2 separate regions of the Homo sapiens genome follow, and region 1 is linked to region 2. Evidence: promoter capture Hi-C in human tissues and cell types (Jung and others, 2019). All regions are on one chromosome and are shown on one strand. Each heading gives the region's core, a stretch centred on a gene start or on the middle of the fragment in contact. The rest is flanking DNA. Distances are from core to core; before and after follow the strand shown. Region 1 overlaps NAV3 (neuron navigator 3). Region 2 holds the start of NAP1L1 (nucleosome assembly protein 1 like 1).

The links. The method cuts DNA at HindIII sites, captures the fragments that hold promoters and counts their contacts. A contact is called where the count stands out against the background at its distance.
Region 1: a contact is called between a fragment that was not itself captured here and the fragment with the promoter of NAP1L1 in region 2, in 1 of the 25 tissues and cell types used here (hippocampus).

What each region holds. Positions count from the first base shown.
Region 1 is chr12:77,966,838-77,970,674 of GRCh38, forward strand. It overlaps NAV3 (neuron navigator 3), which reads left to right. Exons shown (of 40, transcript NM_001024383.2): 5 at 1,682-1,865. Among named protein-coding and RNA genes, the nearest start is that of NAV3, 140 kb to the left of the region's middle. The HindIII fragment of the contact is 3,913 bases long and covers 1-3,575 here.
Region 2 is chr12:76,083,033-76,087,405 of GRCh38, forward strand. NAP1L1 (nucleosome assembly protein 1 like 1) reads right to left here and starts at 1,653. Exons shown (of 15, transcript NM_004537.7): 1 at 1,535-1,653. It overlaps LOC124902970 (a long non-coding RNA gene), which reads left to right and starts at 2,053. Exons shown (of 2, transcript XR_007063379.1): 1 at 2,053-2,135; 2 at 3,179-3,701. RefSeq lists silencers at 968-1,037, 1,088-1,147, 1,218-1,267, 1,408-1,487, 1,928-2,087 and an enhancer at 1,383-1,924. The HindIII fragment of the contact is 10,371 bases long and covers 93-4,373 here.

The sequences.
Region 1 (3,837 bases), core at 369-2,868, 1.9 Mb after region 2:
ACTAAAATTGAAAGAGAGCAAAATGGGGAAAACTTGAACAAATTTTGACATTGATCTTTTTTCTGAGTTTATTTTACTTTCACTTATAAAGGTGGCAAAAGTTTGCAAAAGCTTGCTACACTTAAGATAAAATTTGCCATACTTGAGAACACTGATATTTAAATTTCTTTTATATTTGCTTGTTATGATATATAATTAAATTACACATTTAATGACCAAGAAGCTTAGGTTCAAACCTAACTGGTAGTTCTGTAACTTCGAATAACATTTGAGTAAAATTCCCCAGGATAATATGTTGCTAAGTAGTTACAGGCTAGAAATGCTGCCATTTATTCACTTTTTATGTCTCTTCCTTATGAAAACCTTTATTAATATCAGCCTATTGATTTTCATTCATCTTTAAAATATACATGAATGCTCAAAATTTACTCTCTAAATTAGTTAAACATGCAAAATAATAAAACAATAATTTTTTAAAGACTCTTTAAACAAAATCTTTCAGGTTTATAGGAGAAAATTAACACTCTCTCACTGTAGCCTCAGATTGATGAAGCCAACTCTTCAATATGACGAAAACTATGAGAAATGTTTGGGGGAAAAATAGAACAACTCAGAGGGTCATTTTATATTAATTATTTTACTGCATAGTTTGAGTTATATGATAAACCATCAGAGAGCAAGAAATCCAAAGAGTTGGTTAATTTTCCTAAACTCCAAAAGGGGACATAAAACCTTAATCTCAGAGGAGGATGCATTTTATTGCCAACATCAAGTTTTATTTAAAATATGATTACAGGTTGTGTAGCTTATTTTCAAGCTTTACATCCTTCTCTTTTCCTATTTTTTTAAGTTATAACTACAGGAGAAAAATGTAGGCTTATGTGTACCCTACATTGTGAATTGAATTTTTTTATTCAATATTTGAAAATCTTACACAGCAACTTCATCTGTTAGAACAAGGATTTCTGCTTATTCAATTATGTTATCTGACGTAAGCTAATCCTCCTTATTTATTAATATATAGCATAAATTAAAAATAAAAGAATTGGAACATTAAAAATTGATATGTCTGCTTTTGGAAGATATACCTACACATACATTTTGATATATATGGATATATATTTGGAGGATATATACATACATAAATATGTATAAATGAGTTGGTGAGTGGGTGATTTAGAAAGAAAGTTGATTGCAACAAATCCAGTTGGTATTAGGAGGTGCACCCACATCATCAATATTTATAAATGCAGGACAACCAACATTTAAGTGGCTTTCTTTCTCCAGTTCGTAGCCACTGCTATGCTGGCAACAGCTGTGTATATTTGTGAGGGAATCAACATGCTAAATCAAATGGTTAGCACAAGAGAGAGCTCATTTATTTCTAAGAAGCAGCTAACTCGAGAAAAATTGTAGTTCAAGGTCAGCAAAGAATATCACTTCTGAGTGTGCTTTGTTCTTTTTACCCTCTATCCTTTTATTCTCTCCCTGAAATTCCAAGTTATTTGGAAATGTTAACATGTTTCAGAAATTCAGGTTTGTTTGTGATTCAACTGTGACTGAGAGAATTAAGTTGTATCTCTGTCTTCATAGATTTATTTCAAGAGAAATGCATCTAGAATTTGTTAAAAAGGACATTAAATACATATGATTCTTTTTTTGTATTTTTCATTTCATACAGAAATAAGAAATGGAAACTTAAAAGCCATTCTAGGGCTGTTTTTCAGTTTATCTCGCTACAAGCAGCAACAACACCATCAACAACAGTACTATCAGTCCTTGGTGGAACTTCAGCAGCGAGTTACTCACGCTTCCCCTCCATCGGAAGCCAGCCAGGCCAAAACCCAGCAAGATATGCAGTCCAGGTAAGGAAAGGAAGTAGGGAATGTGTTTCCAATTAGTTTGTGTAGATACAACTTGTTTTTAACAAATTATTGTCCATGAGTTTGAAAAACGTACTCATGTGCTTGTATCAGTGTGATGGGATTATTTGACTTGTGTAATAGAAACTAAAACCACTCTTGTTTTGCTTGGACAAGCAACATCTATCATCTTTTGGGTGACGTATTTTGTTTGTTTTCTAAAGATTGTTGTTCTGTATCACAGTGTGAAATGTCTTTGGTGTAAGTAATGTGGCATGACTACTTTCTTCTACAAATGACTTTAGTATTTAGAATGTGCTATTGAGTCCTAGTCTCCTGTCATGTAGTTATCTTTCATTGATATTTTTGATTAATTAAGTCTGTCAGAAATTTCAGGTCTGTTAAACATAGGAGTTTGAAGTTTGGGAACATAGTGTTTTTGATGTGTGTGTGTGTGTGTGTGTGTGTGTGCATGAGTGTGTGTGTGTATGTGTGTATGCACATACATGTATTATTTGTCTGGCTTGAGTCTTTTGGCATATGTAGACACAGCCTGGTGGAGTGCTCCCAAATCATGGCAACTTCCTTTTCTCTTCCATTATTATTATTTTTTTCCAATATAGAATTATATCAATCAGTGTTCAACTAGAGGAGTCAAGCAAGTAAATGATATATAACAAGAGATTTATTGTGAAGAATTGGTTTAGCATGATTGAGCATACTGGTTAGGCAAGTATGAAATCTGAAGGGCAGCCCAGCTGGAAGGGCAGGCTAGAAATCTCATCATGAGTTGAAATTGCAGTACGCAGGTAGAATTTCTCCTCTGAAGGAAGCCTCAGTTCTGCTTTTGAAAAGCCAAACTTTCGGCCAGGCACGATGGCTCAAGCCTGTATTCCCAGCACTTTGGGAGGCCGAGGTGGATGTATCACAAGGTCAGGAGTTCAAGACCAGCCTGGCCAAGATGGTGAAACCCCATCTCTATGAAAAATACAAAAAGCAGCCAGGTGTGGTGACAGGTGCGTGTAATCCCAGCTACTCTGGAGGCTGAGGCAGAGAATTGCTTGAACCAGGGAGGCAGAGGTTGCGGTGAGCCAAGATCCAGCCTGGGTGACAGAGCGAGACTCTGTCTAAAGTAAACAAACAAACAAACAAAAGAACTTTCTTTCAACTAGTTGAATCAAGATCACCCAGATTATCTAAAGTAAACTTTACTGAAAGTCAATTGATTATAGACTTTTATTACATCCTTAAAATATCTACATAGCAACAACTAGACTAGTATTTGAAGGAATAATTTAGACTATAGTCTAACATAGTTTACATATCAAAATAAATGATCACAGAATGAAGTTTCACTTAACAACTTTCATACAAGCTACTATATTTGTTCCTGAACAATGACTGGGGTATTGGTTAGTTAGCTCTATTACATAAATAGTTATGATTATTTTTCTTGAGGAGAGAGGATATGAAAATCCCTTTCATCGTCTTTGAAAATATAAACACTTGTCAACAAATGTAAATATTTAACTTTGTCCACCTTAGAAGTCAAGCTTGAAACCTACTAACATTCAGTTAACCTTGAGTTTGGTAATTAGAAATGACTCAAACAATTAAAATAATGTTCCAAAGTACATTTATGGACCACCTCCCACTTACTGTCAGTTGTTCAACTGTTCAGAAATCACTTCTCTTTCATCTACCAACCAACCCTCATATGGATTTTGTTTGTTACTCCATAATAAACAATATTTATTTCTCTATACAACCATGTAAATTTGGTTCCCTTTGGAAGATTTTCACTCATCAGTGAATTTTTAAATAAATTTTAAAAAGCTATAGTTTTACTAAAAACATAGCATAAAATATAAAGCTTATGAAGTGATGGGGGATATTTTTTATTATAAAATAATGCAGATATTTGACTGTTCTTTAAGCTCATCTTGGCTTTTGGTTATATCAAGTGAGATTGTAT
Region 2 (4,373 bases), core at 403-2,902:
ATCAGTGACCGTCTAAAATACGGGCTCCTTGAGGACATCCTGCGCCTGGTTCATCCTTTTTGCACTCTCAAAGTCTAGCCTTCCCAGATGGGACCTCAGTCCCAGCCCCCCTACACTGCCATCCCCCAGATCTTTAGGGCAGTAGGGTTCATTGACAAGGTTGCAGGCTACAAACTTGGCAAAGTTTATACTAACACCTCATTCCATCCCACCTCCCATCTTAAAAAGGAAACCGTTAAGTATCTTATTCTAGTGACTTCAATAAAGGAACTAATTTATAAGACAGCCAAGAACAATTAAAGTCATAAAGGGCCAAACATTTTATTTTCATCTAAGAACCGTTTGCAGGGGTGGTCCGATCTTTTGGCTTCCCTGGGCCACACTAGAACTGTCTTGGGCCACACGTAAAATACATTAACTAGCTGATGAGCTTTTTTTTCCAAAAAAAAAAAAAAAAAAAAAACCTCATGAATTTGTGTTGGGCCACATTTAAAGCCGTCCTGGGCCGCGGGTTGGACAAGCTTGGTTTAGGGGTTTAGATCGATCAGGATCAATACTCCCCAAATAAAAAACCCTGATCAAGACACCCATCTAACAGTACCTGGGAAACACAATAACAACCTTTTGCTAATAACAGTTAATATAAGCGCTATATACGCGTTAACTTTTTAAAATACTAGCAGTGGAGGCCCTTCCTTATCATCAGCTAACATCCACAATCTCTGGTACCAATAAAAAGATTAAGACCAAAGAGAAGCAGGGAAGAGTTTGAAACCCAGGGACAGGGCTTACTCGCTTACCCTTCCTTTTCACATTCCACCGTCTCTACAACTTTCAAAGTAAGCACAGACCGAGGGCAAGGGTCTCCAACCAGGCCCAGCCAGTGGCCATGAAGCCCATTACCACGTGTGGAGCGAAGCCGCCGGGGGTTTCCCCTCCCCGCGCGGCCGCCCCCAATGGGCGGAGAGCCCGGGAGCGTCGCAGCCTCCCCCGCCCCCTCCCCGCCTCGGGGACTCGTCCCTCCACAGCCCCTCCCTCCCGTCGGAATTCGCAGCCTCCGCCGTTCTTTTCATCTCCCAGCGGCCTCCCTCCTGGTATTATTTTTGAGGGAAAAGCAGGGGGGTGTCCAAGAGGCGGCCGGCTCTGCACTCGGCCCGGCCCGTACGCCGGGGGCCTCCCGGTCCTCGCGGCGCAGCCGAGTCTCAGGGCACCCGGGCGTCACCGCGGCCTCGCTCCGGTCCACGCGGAAAAGACGGTGGAGCTCAGAGAACCTTAGGCCTCCAGGCCGCGCCAACCCCTACGTCGCCTCAGCCGTCCCCGATAAAAGCGCTGGTCGGCCCCGGGGCCCCTCTCAGGCTCCGGGGTCCGGACTCCGCGGTCCTGTCCGACCTCACAGGACGACCCCGGAGGCCACGGGCGGCCAGCGGCCCCGACTCCCGGCTCCCAGTCCCTCCATCCCTCCGGCCCTCCCATCTGCGCAGGCCGCCCAGCCAACACCACGTTCCCCCTTCCCTTCCAGGCCCCCATCCGTTACCGGCGACTAGTATGGGGAGCCAGGCGGCCGGAGCTGCGCAGGCAGTGACTCAGGGCGGCAGCGGCAGCAGCAGCGGGAGGAGCAGGAGGCGGCGCCGCGAGCAGATGGCGCTAAAAAAGACCCAAGAGCCCGCCGCTCGCGCTCATATACAATTAGCGTCAGCACGTAGGGCCCTTTCGCCGCCCTCCTCCCGGCCTTGTAGTCTCCCAGCAACGCGAGCGAGAGGCGGGTCCAGGCCGGGTTGCCTAGCAACTGAACCGTCCTCCTTCCCCGGCGACCTCCATACCCCCACCGAGGACTCCTGCAGCCCCGAGGCCCAGGCGCCGCGCTTGGGCTCCTCTGGTTCCCGCCGGTGTCTAACCTCCTCTGTTAAGCACCCCACCATATCTTTTCTCCCTGCTGAGCCGGAAAGGAAATTTCAACCCCATCAGTTGTGGGGAAGGCCTGGCCCGCGTGCCCGGCGCCCGGCCCGCCCCGCCCCCTTCGGCGTTGTGCTGGGAACGCTCAGGGCTGGCGCCAGTCGCCTGGTCCCTCGCTCGCCGCAGCCTAGACGGCGGACGCTCCCTGTCAAGGCCTAATTCCTGCAACTCGCCGGCCCCCGGTAACCGTTTTCCTTCCCCGCCTAAGAAAAACAGTTTTTTCCTCTAGACCACTTCGGCGGCCTCTTCTGACAGTTTTGCTTCTCCTATGCCAGCGGGTCTCCGCGCCTTTAGGGGGTGCTCGTCATCCTTTGCCCCCCAACCCCCCGCCACATCCTCGTAACTGATGTACAGTCCGTCAGTTCGGCTTCAGTTCTTTTGACGGATGAAAATGGCATATTTGTGCATTCTCTGGATGCGTTATAATGAGGACACTCAGTACGTCCGTTGTTTCATCTTTCTGAAAAAGTAAATCACATTAAATCCTCAGGCTTGTAAAACCTCATAGCTAATTTTCAAGTGATGATGAATTGACTAATACTAACTCAAAAAGTTGTTCTCAGAGTATGGTCTGAGGGTCCCCAGACCCTTTCATGGGGAAGGTCAAAACTATTTCCATATTAATGTCAAGACTGCCTTTTGCATTCTCATTCTCTCACAAGTGTACAGTGGGGTTTTCCGGAGGCTACGTGACATGTGATAAGGAAACAGACTGAAAATAGAAGCAGATAGGAGAATCCAGTCATCTGCGGTTAAACCAGACGTTAAAGAGATTTGCAAAAACTCGATTTGGGGGCAAGGGGGAGTAGTTATTTTTCATATAAAAATTATTTTTTGTTAATATTTGATTGCTTTATTGTTTTTAAATGAAATACTCTTAAAATTTCTCACTTTTAATTTCTGATATAAATATCAGTATCAGTAATGCACATAAAAGTTCTTTGGGGTCCTCAACTTTTAAAGGAGTGTAAAGGAATCCTAAGACCACAAAGTTTGAGAACCTCTTCTCTAAATCTTGCATTTATTGAAACTTCAAACTGCCTAGAATCCCCTATTGTAATCCACACATTTAGCAACTTTATCTTCCGTTTTAGGGGATACAATGTTTTCCTTGGCCCTCCAGAACCTCATTGAAATTATTTGCCTTCCCACTCTATACTGCAGACGACTCTGTTTATTCATTCATTTTAGTTTTTCATATACAATTCCTTTGTTGTTCTCATAGCCTATTCCTGTACACCCTTCTCAACAATGATGTAATGATACAAGGAGCATAATAGCATCAATAATGGATCTTCAGGAAGAACCCACTATACATAAACAAGGTAGACCAGTGCTCAGTTTGAACATAAATTTGACACATTAATTTCAATAAGAACTTCAGGAATGTTGCATTTTAATCAAAGCTGTGCACGATGCAAGGTAATTAGCATATTAAAATGAACTAAATAACTTTCACTTTCTTTCCATAAATCTTTATGGTAGCAGAATTTCTGAGACAAAATTGAGAAGTTAGCTTTTGTGGTGGTTTTTATCCCACACCAGAGAGCCTCATCAATTTTCGGCACTTCGCTCATGAAGGCTCTGGATTTTTTAGGTTTCACCACCCCCCCACCAACCCCTATAACTTAGGTGTTATCATTACCAGTACATATGCTCTTTCCCCCTTTTCTCCAGCTTCCTCTTCTTTTTTCAGTGTATCCTAGCCAATCTAAGAAACTAAACAATAAAATATTTCTAATAATGCATGCCTTTGTAATATAGTCTTTTGAACCAGTTTGTAAATCTAAGTCTTTGCCATTAAAGTTCAGGGAAGGGCAGACATTTATGCATTCATTCAACAAATATTTATGTCAGGCACAACTTCGGACTCTGGAAATACAGCATTTAGTAAGAAAGACACGGTTCTTGATTTTATTGAAGTTATGGTCTAGTGAGGTGAGGCAAATGATTAGAGATAAAATAATTTTACTAATAAAATATTAGTAATAAAACAATTTCACTTATCAATAATAAATAATTGATAAGTGAATGCTATAAAGAAAATAAAATGAGAAAAGGGGTAGGAGGTGACTGACCTGAAGATACCTTTGAGCTTTTTTTTTTTTTTTTTTTCGACGGAGTCTCACTCTGTTGCCCAGGCTGGAGTGCAGTGGCGCGATCTCGGCTCACTGCAACTTCTGCCTCCCGGTTTCAAGCAATTGTCCTGCCTCAGCCTCCCGATTAGCTGTGACTACAGGCAGGCGCAACCACGCCCAGCTAGTTTTTTTGTGTTTTTAGTAGAGATGGGGTTTCACCATGCTGGTCAGTCTGGTCTCGAGCTCCTGACCTCAAATGATCCGCCTGCCTCAGCCTCCCAAAGTGCCGGGGTTACAGGTGTGAGCCTCTGCATCCGGCCACCTTTGAGCTTTTTACATTGG